Linked DNA regions of Homo sapiens: region 2 is linked to region 1. Evidence: promoter capture Hi-C in human tissues and cell types (Jung and others, 2019). All regions are on one chromosome and are shown on one strand. Each heading gives the region's core, a stretch centred on a gene start or on the middle of the fragment in contact. The rest is flanking DNA. Distances are from core to core; before and after follow the strand shown.

Region 1 (6,640 bases), core at 2,898-5,397:
CTTTTCCGCCACAAGCACCCACTGTCCATCTGCACGTGTAATCACAGAGACTTGCCCTGTCTTCATTACCAGGGGATCCGAGGAAAGGGGAGAAAATTCTCTGTCGTGAAAAGGAACCTTGTGTTATCACTACTATTATTTGTGTATAGCGACCTAAGAGTTTCCTTGTCCTCTTCAAATTCCCCTACAATATTGAAACAGCATTTGTTGCCCCATTCTTACAAACGTTTGAGGCCTTTCTGGAAAACCATTACCATTCAAAGGCTAGAAAATTGCTCTCCTTCCTTTTTTTTTTTTTTTTTTTTAAAAAAAAGGCAGGCGCAGCAGCAGCTATAACAGATAACAAAAACTTTCTACCGCATAATCCTCGCCCTCAGAATGACAAAGAAATGATATTGACTTACCCCCGAACGGATGATGTGTTTGATAAGGGAGGGAAATTTTTTTTTTTTTTTGAAGATTTCTGTTGAGGAGCTGCACAGACAGCTGCAATTCATGGGCGACGCTGATTGCCAGAAACGCTATGGATTGGCATGGGGTCTGCAGCTCACAGATCCCTGATCAATACCCCTACACTAACACGCCAGATGGTTTGGGGAAGGACAAAAATAAAATAGTCCAAATCAACCCACCATTATGTTTTTTTGTGTGTGTATTGCTCTGATAACCTAGTTGTAGCATAAATGTGTTCTACCCTGACACAAAACCTGACAAGATTTCGAGCATTGGGGTAGAAATTAGCAGCTCTCCTCTACCCTAGATTTGGGTCGTGGTTACTGTTGTATAGTAAAAACAAAGATATTGGGCCCCTTATGCAGATTGGGTTTACTTGTGGTCTGTTTATCTTTTTCCGTGAATAATTTATAAAGTATCTCTTTTAATTGAATGTTCACCTCTCTGTGTGTGTCTCTCTATACCTAAAAACAATTTTATTGTGGAAAACACATACGAAAAACTCCGATAGTAAATAGTTATTTTCCTGCAATTGCTAACTCAAGTTCAGAATGTTTTTCTTTTACAGTGCAATAGCCTATAATAGTCTTGTTGTCGAAGCTGCATTTTATTTTCATGCTTCTTTTGACCCATTTAAGTTTCTGATCTTCAAGAAAATTGGACCTGTGAATGTGGCATGCTAAGTGAATATCCAGGTCCTGATATAATGCTTGGTACAACTGTTTGTCCAGATTCTAATAGCCGTGAATTAGCACTTATCATACCACATTTCTATACAGTGTGTTTGTAAATCAAATGCTGGTGGGGAGGGGGGAGAAGAGGAGTGTAACTTCAAATTAAAAGAAAAAATTCCAAGTTGCAGAACTTCTTAAGGTTAAAGTATGGATGCTAAACAAGGGGCAGTTAGAAAGCCACTTTCCCTTATATTTTCTTAAAGAACTATAGAGAAAGAAACATCAAAAATATTTCAAAAAATACTTGAAAATCGTATTAGTATTGATACTCCAAAAATTGTCTTGAAGTAAAAAACAAATATTGTTCCTTTTTAGAAAGAAAGAGAAAAGGGCATCCAAACCTAATTCAGTAAAAATTAGGGTGCTCACTAAACAAGCACATCCATTTTCCTTTTAAATGGATTTTGGGTTGAAACATAAAACCTCAAACCACCATTATAAAAACAACGTGAAAAATCTGCTTTAATTCTAGTCCAATGAAATTATACACAAAGAAGCCAATACGATTTCATGATTTCCCTGAGATCGCCAATATTGATCGAGGGAAGGCGGAGGGATGGTGGGAGTGAGGGAGGAGGGAGGGAGGAAGGAAGGAAGCGAGGCAGCGAGAAAATGCAACTCACCTTTCTGCTCCCAGGCACACCGAAATATAATTCCCAAAAGCAGGTTTATCTCAGTGTCCTGGCAAATGAGTTTAACATTTTGAAAATTTATTTAAATGGCAATTTATATACCTAGGTTTCTGTATGGAGGAAGCATCAGCCTAGGGTAACTGGCCACTCCTTGAGACTGAAGCCAGCAGAGCAGCAGAGGCTACCTTAGCACTGGGGCATATCAGACCCACTACTTCCCAGTTCTGCTTCTCTCCTGCTGTATTTCAGTCCCTGTGCACTCATGGACCAAGAACAGGTTGCACTCTCGTGAACTTTTGCTCAACTCAGTATTATATTTCAAACATTAACTGACTCAAATCATCCCAAGTGTCCAGATGCCATATATAAGGTAGGGAGTGCGAAGAGAGACAGTAGGAGGGGGTGAGGAGGAGAGGAAAAACAGAGAAACCAAAATCTGAGTTATTTTACCTGGCTCCTGTTGTGACACTAGAGATGTGAGCAACCAGAAAAGTATGTCTGGCAAACCAGAGGATCTGCCGCTTTCTTACTCAGGCTTTGATAACACAGAGAAGACGCTATTTGAAAGAATAATTGGCAGCGTATTGGCCAGAGCTCAATGAAGTTGATCTATGAATAACGTCACTGTACATTCATGTGACAGGGTGGGGGTGGGGGTGTTGCTCTGAAGCAAGAAGAGAGAGGAGGGCGGCAGAAAAGGTCACTGAGACTAAGAACTGTTTTCCAAATGAATCAAACCTTTCTCTGGCACCAAGAAGGGACATACAGTATTCCGAGCTCTGCCCTTGTTTTCTTATCAAGTTTTCTCTAACAGCTGGAAGTGGTTGAAGGGGGCTGTCTTAAGGAGACCCCCTGCTCTTCTTTTGACAGCTGATCAAAAGAAAATAGGTCACGCTTCTCAAACTTATGTCCACCCTGTCCTTAATTACTGTCTCTTTAAACAAAGGCAACATCTGCGCAACCTCAGCTAGCTTGAATCTTCGGAGGCAAACAGAGCGCAACCTGCTTTGGAAGAATCTTGTTACGTTTAAGGCTTTATGCCGGGTGTTGGCCTCTCTGTCTTCAACTACCCCTCCACCCCGACTCGGACTGCAGAAATCTCCAACTCTCTGTCCCCCAGTTCCACTCCCACCTCCAGACCTGGGGTTGCCAAACAACGGAAATTCTAGGAAGACGTAGGTGCGGTTTTTAAAGCCTTGGCTTGTGAGCGTTCTCAGGCTGGCCGGGGCGCTGGTCTTTTCAGAAACAAGGTTTGAATATGCAGGTGTCAGCCAGGATTCCTTGTCGTCTGCCCACCGCCGTTTCTCTCCCGGGATTTGAGAGAAGCGGGAGTGTGTGTGTGTGTGTGTGTGTGTGTGTGTGCGCGTGTGTGTGTCTCGTGTTAGGAGAAAGGTCCGTGGTTGCCGTCTCAGCTGGTTTGCTTACTCTCTGCCCCCAGGAGAAGTTTGCTCACTTGGGACACCAGCGACCCTCCTCACCTCCACCTCACCGGTTCTACACTCTCCCCACTTCTTTCCAAGTCGCTGATGCAGAAAGCACTTGGTCACCTTGAAACGGCAGCTCCCGGAATTCTAGTTTTGTTTTGCAATCTAGCAGGGCTCTTCGGAAGCCTCATAACTGAGATTTATGGGCTCACCGGGTAATTAAATGATGTTATTGTGTTAACTTTGCATGCATTACTGCTGCCCGCGCCGCCCGTGGGCCGCCGGCCGGCCGCAGCTCGCTGGCGACGAGGGCACTACAGTTGCTCTGACCGCGTAGATTATGCATGTCCCGGCCTCGGGAATTTACCATGCATTAGAATACATTAGCGCCTGCATTTTAAAAGGCTAAACTATTGGCTCCCAGCTAGGGACTCTCGGTAAGTGGCTTGTTAGTGACGAGTGTTTGTCTATACTGGCACATAGCGGAGTCTTTTGCTCCCGGCTTACTCGCCTCCAGGAAAGCTTTGGGGTGAGGCGAAGGCGATTGAAGCAATGCCCCTTCCCCCAGATCGCAGCTGCTCAGGGGGGACACAGCACGGCATCTTTCACCGAATCTCTCTCGCTCGCTCGCACTCCAGCCTCCCTCTCCCCAGCGACCCCCCCACCTTCTCCTCCCTCCCTCTCCTTGACGTTTGATTCCAGTAGCAAAGGAGGTAAAAAAGGCACCGAGCCGTCAGCCAAACCTGAAAAGTGCGGCCCCGCCCCCTCCACAGCCACTGGTAGCTTCCCGTGGAAGGCCCGCCTCCCGGGGCAGCTGCGGCCTCGGAGTGGTTGCGCTTGGCGCCCGTCGGGCGTGGCCCCGCCCCAGGTCCGGGAGGGTAGGTTGGCTGCCCCGGCGAGCGGCAGAGCCCTTCTGGACAGCTCCCGCTCACCCAAACAGAAGACGTCGGCGCCGGAGCGGGCTCGGACATGGCGAGGCTGCGAGCCGGCCCGAGCGGCGGGGCCCGGTGATCCCTCCCTCCCTCCCCGTCCCCTCCCCTCTCCCGCACGCACGCCCCGTCCGCCCCCACCCCGCCCCCACCCCGGGCGAGCCCGCCCGCAGCCCGGGGCGCACACCCGCACGCGCACTCCTCTCCACTCACTCCCGCGCCCGCCCCCACTCCCGCAGCCGAGCCCCGCCACGCGCGCCTTGCCCGCCCGCCGGCCGCCCCCGCCGCCCCCGCCGCCCCCGGGCCCTGATGGACTGAATGAAGGCTGCCTACACCGCCTATCGATGCCTCACCAAAGACCTAGAAGGCTGCGCCATGAACCCGGAGCTGACAATGGAAAGTCTGGGCACTTTGCACGGGCCGGCCGGCGGCGGCAGTGGCGGGGGCGGCGGCGGGGGCGGCGGGGGCGGCGGCGGGGGCCCGGGCCATGAGCAGGAGCTGCTGGCCAGCCCCAGCCCCCACCACGCGGGCCGCGGCGCCGCTGGCTCGCTGCGGGGCCCTCCGCCGCCTCCAACCGCGCACCAGGAGCTGGGCACGGCGGCAGCGGCGGCAGCGGCGGCGTCGCGCTCGGCCATGGTCACCAGCATGGCCTCGATCCTGGACGGCGGCGACTACCGGCCCGAGCTCTCCATCCCGCTGCACCACGCCATGAGCATGTCCTGCGACTCGTCTCCGCCTGGCATGGGCATGAGCAACACCTACACCACGCTGACACCGCTCCAGCCGCTGCCACCCATCTCCACCGTGTCTGACAAGTTCCACCACCCTCACCCGCACCACCATCCGCACCACCACCACCACCACCACCACCAGCGCCTGTCCGGCAACGTCAGCGGCAGCTTCACCCTCATGCGCGACGAGCGCGGGCTCCCGGCCATGAACAACCTCTACAGTCCCTACAAGGAGATGCCCGGCATGAGCCAGAGCCTGTCCCCGCTGGCCGCCACGCCGCTGGGCAACGGGCTAGGCGGCCTCCACAACGCGCAGCAGAGTCTGCCCAACTACGGTCCGCCGGGCCACGACAAAATGCTCAGCCCCAACTTCGACGCGCACCACACTGCCATGCTGACCCGCGGTGAGCAACACCTGTCCCGCGGCCTGGGCACCCCACCTGCGGCCATGATGTCGCACCTGAACGGCCTGCACCACCCGGGCCACACTCAGTCTCACGGGCCGGTGCTGGCACCCAGTCGCGAGCGGCCACCCTCGTCCTCATCGGGCTCGCAGGTGGCCACGTCGGGCCAGCTGGAAGAAATCAACACCAAAGAGGTGGCCCAGCGCATCACAGCGGAGCTGAAGCGCTACAGTATCCCCCAGGCGATCTTTGCGCAGAGGGTGCTGTGCCGGTCTCAGGGGACTCTCTCCGACCTGCTCCGGAATCCAAAACCGTGGAGTAAACTCAAATCTGGCAGGGAGACCTTCCGCAGGATGTGGAAGTGGCTTCAGGAGCCCGAGTTCCAGCGCATGTCCGCCTTACGCCTGGCAGGTAAGGCCGGGGCTAGCCAGGGGCCAGGCTGCTGGGAAGAGGGCTCCGGGTCCGGTGCTTGTGGCCCAAGTCTGCGCGCCGAGTCACTTCTCTTGATTCTTTCCTTCTCTTTCCTATACACGTCCTCTTTCTTCTCGTTTTTATTTCTTCTTCCATTTTCTCTTTCTCTTCCGCTCTTCCCCTACTTTCCCTTCTCCCTTTTCTTTTTCTTTCTTACTCTCTCCTTGTCCCTGAGCTTTCATTGACCGACCCCCCCCCATTTCATTCGCCCTCCCCTCAATGTGCCAACCTTTGCCCTATTTCCGATCTTCCCAGGTACTGGGAGGCGGGATGGGGGTGTGCGTTTTCCTCTAGGAGCCCTGTCTTTCCAAGACCCACAGAAACCAGGACCTGCCCTTATTCAAAACCCCATGCACTTCAAGTCTCTTTTAGACAACACATTTCAATTTTCCGGGCTGACTAGTCTCCCTGTGCAGAGGCAGTTGAGAGGCTTTGCTCTGCAGAGGGAAAAGAGCTCTCTACTCTCCCACCCACCATATAGGCAAACTTATTTGGTCATTGGCTGAAGGCACAGCCTTGCCCCCGCGGGGAACCGGCGGCCAGGATACAACAGCGCTCCTGGAGCCCATCTCTGGCCTTGGCGTTGGCGCAGGGACTTTCTGACCGGGCTTGAGGGGCTCGGGCCAGCTCCAATGTCACTACCTACAGCGAGGGCAGGGTGTAAGGTTGAGAAGGTCACATTCACCGCTTTGGGAGGACGTGGGAGAAGAGACTGAGGTGGAAAGCGCTTTGCCTTGCTCACCGGCCGTCCTTGCCCCGGTCCCAGCGTTTGCTGGGATTTGCCAGGATTTGCCGGGGCTCCGGGAGACCCTGAGCACTCGCAGGAAGAGGTGCTGAGAAATTAAAAATTCAGGTTAGTTAA
Region 2 (6,640 bases), core at 2,628-5,127, 530 kb before region 1:
TACCTTCCAGACTGAAAACCTAAAGTCCAACATTATCAAGTTTTGTGGAGGACTTGGAACAACCAGAACTCTTTTATACTTATTATAAGAATGTAAATTGGTTTAGTCTCTTTGGAAAACAATTGAGTATATTATCTTGTGAGTCCACCCTTTTCTATATTTAGAGAAACCTTTTCACATGTAACCCAGGAAACATGTACAAGCATGTTCATAGCAAACAGTTTGAAATAACAAAAATTGGAATCAGCGCATGTGCATTAAGTATTGGACAAATATACTGAGCAAAAAAAGAATGGAAAAAGAATGAACTTTTATGAAGTTCAAAACCATGTAAAATGAAATAATTTATTATTAGGGATACAAACGTATGTAGTAAGAAAAATGAAAGCTAGGGAATGAAACCACACAACTCAGAACAATGATTACTCTAAAGGGTGCTAAGAAAGGGGGTGAATTCAGGTAGAACTACCCAAGGGGCTTCATAAATATTGTAAGACATTGATATTTTTTATGTTGTCACATAAAAATTATGCATCTTTACCTTTGTATTGTTGAGCCAAATAAAAGAAGGGCATAAAAATGTGTACACTTTGATTCAGTCTTGTAGTAAATATTATGATTCAAGTATCTAAAATAGCAGTGACCAAGATTATAAAAATGTTTCTCTCAGTTACAATTAAGGAAAAAGAAAAGGGTAGAATGAATCTCGAAATATAATTATGACCTCATAGTTTAGTATGCATGCATACAGATATAGAAATAAATATAAATACTTTTTTATACCTTGATTGGTGTGGAGACGTATATTTCCTACCTCTGGCCACTGAGAGGGTCCAGGAGCAATGACACTCCAGTAGCAAAGTCCATACCTATAGCAAAGATGTTGGTTTTGAAATACCATTATCTAATAAAAGGAACTAGGACTCCTTGGAGAAGCAGTTGATTTTAGGGCTTAGAACATCTGTCTGTGATGTCAAAAAATAAGGGCTTAAAAAGGATAGGGGCACGTCAAAAGGACATGGGACCAACCTGAAGGTGCTTCTAATAGCCAAAACTGGAACAATTTAGGCAACAAAATATGATATATTTTATGGAATTATAATCTATAGAATAAAATACCCATGAAGCCATACTATTAGAATAAATAAATAAATGAAGGATAAGGGACAGCTCTTACAGAAGGATTCTGGTTAATAAATATAGCAAGAATCAGGGAAATCTTTATTAGGCGAAGATCACAGAAGTAATTGTTGCAGACAAGATTCAGGGGTGGATGTTAAAATCAGTATATTTAACACAGCCTTCAAGTTTTTCCTCCCAAGATATGTATCAGTTGCAAAGGGAAAGTTGATTTCTCCACTGTAATTCGTTAGCTTAAACAAATGATGAAGGGTAGCGTTGTCAGTAATAAAACATTTCAACGTCAGATTTTCCTTGGAATGATACACTTGCAAGGACATATCTGTGATATTCTAGTCAAAGGGCATACCTTTAATCTAATCTTGAGAAAACATCCCAACTGAGAGACATTCCACAAAATGAACCATTATTCACCAAAAATGTCAGAGTCTTGGAAGAGAAGATGAACCATGTCAGGAACTGTCACAGATTGAAGAAGACTAAAGAGACATGACAACTAAATACAGTGTGGGATCTAGAAGTGGATGTGGGAACCAAAAAGGGCGCTGGTGAAGCTTAAACCAGGTCTGTAGGCTAGTGAGTAGGATTCTACCAATACTAATTTTGATAATCATACAATGGTTATGTAAGTTGACCTTAGAAGAATCTGAGTGAAGAATTCTGTGAAATCTCTGTATTTATGCAAGTTTTCTGGAAGCCAAAAATTATTTCAAAATAGTTCTTAAAAAGCGGTTCTTCCTAGGTAGCAGAATAAAGATAGATTTATATTTTATAGTAGTATAAGTAATACTATATTTCAAAGTAGCTGATTATGTTAAGAATTAAGAATAGCAATTTAATGTTTCTATTCCTTCCCCAATATTTCTCCCTTTCCAGTTTTCGAGGGTGCTATACAACCCATGGGTAGAAAGTTTGGTACAGTTTTATTTATAGATTTAAAAATAGAAGCATAATAATTAGAGATTTTTAGCATATATCATTGTGTTATTAGGTAGGTCTTGGAATAGAGAGTATATTTTTCACATTCAACTTTATCCATGTCCATTAAGCCATGATGCTTCTTACCTCTAATTCATTATTTTAAATAGGTATATTTTTCCCCACTATATTACATGAAATAAAGTTGAAACAAAATATTAGAGTAAGTCATATTCTGAATTTTGTTTGTTGCTAGTCATAGGAGAAAAAAAGAAAAATCTTCCATGCTGTCCTCAAAGTTTTAAAAATTCTTATATTAAAGACACAATAATGTGTTTCTAAGGTATTGCCTAAATTCCTGAAAATTTTAAGGCATCTTTTGTTTTACCTTTTCAGAGTGTTTTTCTTCTGCACATGCCCATTGCAATTAATTGGTATTTTCCTTGAGCCCACACTAAGGAAAGCTACCCATGGGAATTAGATCCCAGTACAACATACTTTTCATTTGTTACCTTTAGTTTTGTATTTTATTGTTTTAAAAAAAAATCATTCTAGACTGTACAAGCCTGAAACTAATCTTGACTATATCTAATGTGTAAGAAATAAATGCTTTTTGTGTTAACGATTTCTGATCATCATATAAGCTTTAAGAATAAAGGAGTTTTATATTTCCATTGACAAAGTGCTGACACATTGATAAACAAGTAACTTTAGAAATAATCCCTAAGAATTCAATATGTGCTTTAAAGTTTTGCATTATTTATGTGTGCCTAGGTGATGACTGTCTGATTTATGCTCCAAACCTGTAGATTTTCTCCTTTAAGCAAATAAGAGTACATCATGATTAATAAGTGATCTCTGAATTAAGCTCACTGGACACATATATATATGTGTGTGTGTGTGTGTGTATATATATATATATATATATATATATAAAATTGTTAATGGCATTTTGATTTAGGCATTTTAGTAAATTTTCACTGTTATCAGAAATTTTATCTTGTCATCTATAGAGTAGACGGGCTGGACACTTTGGAGAACTTTTATAGTAACTGAATTGTACTACTTCATGATTTTGTAAAGAAAAGAGAAGGTAGAATTTTCTAGAATACTATTAAAGCTATGTAGTAGTCTCCAAGCCAGAGAAGTAAAAGCGGTTACTTTAGGTAGTGTAAAGTTGGTTCCCATTCATTCTTGAAGGGAGATGGAGAGGAAGGGAGGTAAATCAGTCAGGAAATAGAAACCACATCAGTTACCTAAACAGTGGAAGTTTAATACAAAGAGCTTCTCACTAGCAGAAAATGATTAACTACTAAAAGAGGTAAAAAGAGACTCAGGGGTCCAGAGATACTATGTGCAAAATATCAGCTACTACCTCGTCTAGGGTGCGGAAGAGTGGATAGTAAAGTGACTCAGGACTGGGAGAGGCCCTCCTCCAAGGCTAAGATTAGACTTCTTTAAAGAGTCAGTGATTCCTAGGGGAACATCGGGCTTGTAGATAATGAAATTTGCCAAAGTGGCCTACCGCTGCCTGTGAGTGGAGGCAGCTTGTTGCTAATCTGGAAGTTTCTTCAGGGATGGGGGCTAGAGCTGATGGGCTGGTCCAAGCTGGTCTATAGACACAGCCTGCCATTTTCCAAGGGTTAGGCCATCCACAGCAGCTTGGGGAGGGAAGTGTTTTTCCCCTTGCCGGATCTCTCCATTGACCTCTATCAATGAAGCTTAACATTCTGCCAGCTGGCAAAGGACATGTTTCCAGAGTCCAGCTCCAGTATTGCAAAGCAGTAGGTAAACAATGAATTTAGAGCTGAGATACTATACATTGCTAACTGTTCTAGAAGGAATAATTTACTGTTATAATTCTAAATACAGTCTCATAAATCAAAACTTTCACATCACTAAAATTTTATTATCTGCTTGGTTCTTTATAATGCTAATCATGGGCTAGGCATGATGGCTCATGCCTGTAATCCCAGCACTTGGGGAGGCTAAGGCCGAAGGATTGCTTGAGGCCAGGAGTTTAACACCAGTGTGGGCATAGCAAGACCGTGTCTTTGAAAATTTTTAAAAATAATAATGCTAATTATATTCTCTATAAATAGTTATTATAATGTCATTGTCTTAAGTTTTGAAAGGACAATCCAGAAATTGTTCTCTATTTTGTTGCTTTCTGGGAAGTACTCTTATCATAGCTGGGTAGATCTCTAGGCAGTATAGTCATGGGGTAGGTTTGAAAACCAGGCCATGCCTCAAAAAATGAATTCTACCTCTGTAGAGTAAGCACAACTAACTCCATTTTGCATTTACAGATAAATAAATGATGGTTGGCAACTGTTGTCCCCAAATTTGCATTTCAATGGCCTAGTAATGTCCCATCGCTTACCTAGTACTTCACAAGGATGTTAGTGATAAGGAATAATTAATGATCTGTTAACAAGATCACATCTTTGATTATAATGTACAATAGATGTACAAATTCTATATTTAACTTTTATTTGCCTTTTAATTGCTATGGATTTCTGAGCCTGCTACTAGGTGCTTTATCAGACTGAAGAAATGGTCCCTATAATCTCTTATCCTCAGTCCCAGTGGTCATTACAATGTATTTTCTCCAAAATAGAAAAGGCAACCTAGTTGCATTGTATGTTGTAAAATGTTGGAGTGCCATCCATTTTAGCTGCGGTTGTCAGTTCACTGGGACAGCATTCTGGGAGTAAAGAAAGAATAAAAATGGCAAGCAGAGGATTTACTAGTGTCTTTGTGTTCATGGTTTGAAGGGCGAATACTACTATTGGCAAGTGGAGAATTCTTCAGACTTTTAAGTGCTACAGAAGAGTTTCAGGCTTGTTAAGCTCAAGCTCATTTAAAATTCTACTTTGTCTGACTGACCATCACATCACAAAGCAGTCTGCTCAGAATGTCACCAGTGTCAGTTCTGTGACCTCCGGAACTGCATATAGCAGTTGGCTTGAGTTGAACAGGCCACTCTGCTTCTGGGAAGAGAAGAGTTCTGGGCAATAACACAAGTCCTAAAATATTGATGTGGCTACTTCTAAAGTATAGCAATATTACATAGTTATATGCAGTGTGTCATTCAAGCTGTTTTCATTGCCCAGAAATCATAGTGCTGAGCCTATCTTTTGTCAATCAAGTTAATTTTGGTAACTACAAAGTAGAGTTTGCCTTTGTGGACATTTATATAGGGACATGTATATATAATTATATAATGTGCTTATTTAAAAGCTATATTTTTTAAATGCTAGACAAAGATTGAAATGTTATTGTCTTATTTAGTACCTCCCTTAAATCATGTACAGACAGACATCCAGGTAAACACAGATGGAAACTCTGTGATTTTTCTGTCTGAATGCCTGTGTTGCAGGTGTAGTGGTATTAAGGACTATTGTATCAAATATTAACTTGTGTCATATGAAATTGCCATTTTTGAGGGTCAAAGATGGTCAAATATTGGCTATTTCACATGGCTCATCCTAATAGTAAATTTTCAACTGTGCTAGGATTTGGAAGTGCACCAGCTTTTTAAAGCAAATTATATAAACCAGAGCTCAAATTAACAACTGGACAAAAGACAGACAAGTATGATGTTAAGGGAAGTAAAAGGTAATGAGTGACTTATGACTCAGTCTTTTACTGCAGCAGCATAAGGAAGGTGTGACTCTCATCACTGTATCGATAGAAAGTGTTTTGGTTAACAGATTTTTTCATTCTCTCAAAAATGCGTTTTATGTCTAGGAATGTGTGAATTTTTGCAGGTTCTTTCAAACTTGCTTACGTGGTTGCCCTCCTGACACACCACCCAGTAGGTTCTTATTTCAGAACCTTTCTGAAATAAATATTGGCCTTTCTGACTTAAATATCAAGGTGATTGCCCGTTGGCAGCATTGTGTATTAATGCCTTGGGTGGTAGTTACTTGCTTTTGTTTTATACTTAATAGCAACCTTGCCTAAAAACATACTAGAGAGTACCTCATCAACCGTTGAGGTTTTGCATCTTTTATTGGTCTGCCTTTATTTTCTGATATTTTCTAAAGATGGTGTTTCACTGAGGTCTTTTAATTCCATGAATGAAGTTGTAATTAGTTCGGTATTATTTTTAATAATCTTCATTCTGGTGGTAAAATTCACTTGTTGTTTTGAGAGTTGAGCTGTGGATAGTAAGTATCCATTAATAAAACAGTAGCCAATTGGTATATTTGTTTTTCATTTTATTTTTATTATTTATTTATTTATTTATTTACTTTGAGAAGGAGTCTTGCCCTGTCACCCAGGCTGGAATGCAGTGACGTGATCTCGACTCACTGCAGCCTCCGCCACCTGGGTTCAAGTGATTCTTCTGCCTCAGCCTCCCGAGTAGCTGGGATTACAGGCATGTGCCACCATGCCTGGCTAATTTTTGTATTTTTAGTAGAGACAGGGTTTCACCATGTTGGCCAGGCTGGTCTTGAACTCCTGACCTCAAGTGATGCGCACTCCTCGGCCTCCCAAAGTGCTGGGATTACAGATGTGAGCCACCACACCCAGCCATTTTTCCATTTTCAATGGAAGTTGGATTTGGTGTTCT

What was found. Contacts are between HindIII fragments. The study calls those that stand out against the background at their distance.
Region 2: a contact is called between a fragment that was not itself captured here and the fragment with the promoter of ONECUT2 in region 1, in 3 of the 25 tissues and cell types used here (dorsolateral prefrontal cortex, mesendoderm cells and small bowel).

What each region holds. Positions count from the first base shown.
Region 1 is chr18:57,431,227-57,437,866 of GRCh38, forward strand. ONECUT2 (one cut homeobox 2) reads left to right here and starts at 4,148. Exons shown (of 2, transcript NM_004852.3): 1 at 4,148-5,718. The coding sequence starts at 4,491. RefSeq lists enhancers at 2,874-3,454, 3,455-4,034, 6,149-6,640 and a silencer at 4,028-4,077. The HindIII fragment of the contact is 18,346 bases long and covers 1-6,640 here.
Region 2 is chr18:56,897,118-56,903,757 of GRCh38, forward strand. The region is part of intron 21 of WDR7 (WD repeat domain 7); the gene reads left to right. Among named protein-coding and RNA genes, the nearest start is that of WDR7-OT1, 140 kb to the right of the region's middle. The HindIII fragment of the contact is 3,358 bases long and covers 2,199-5,556 here.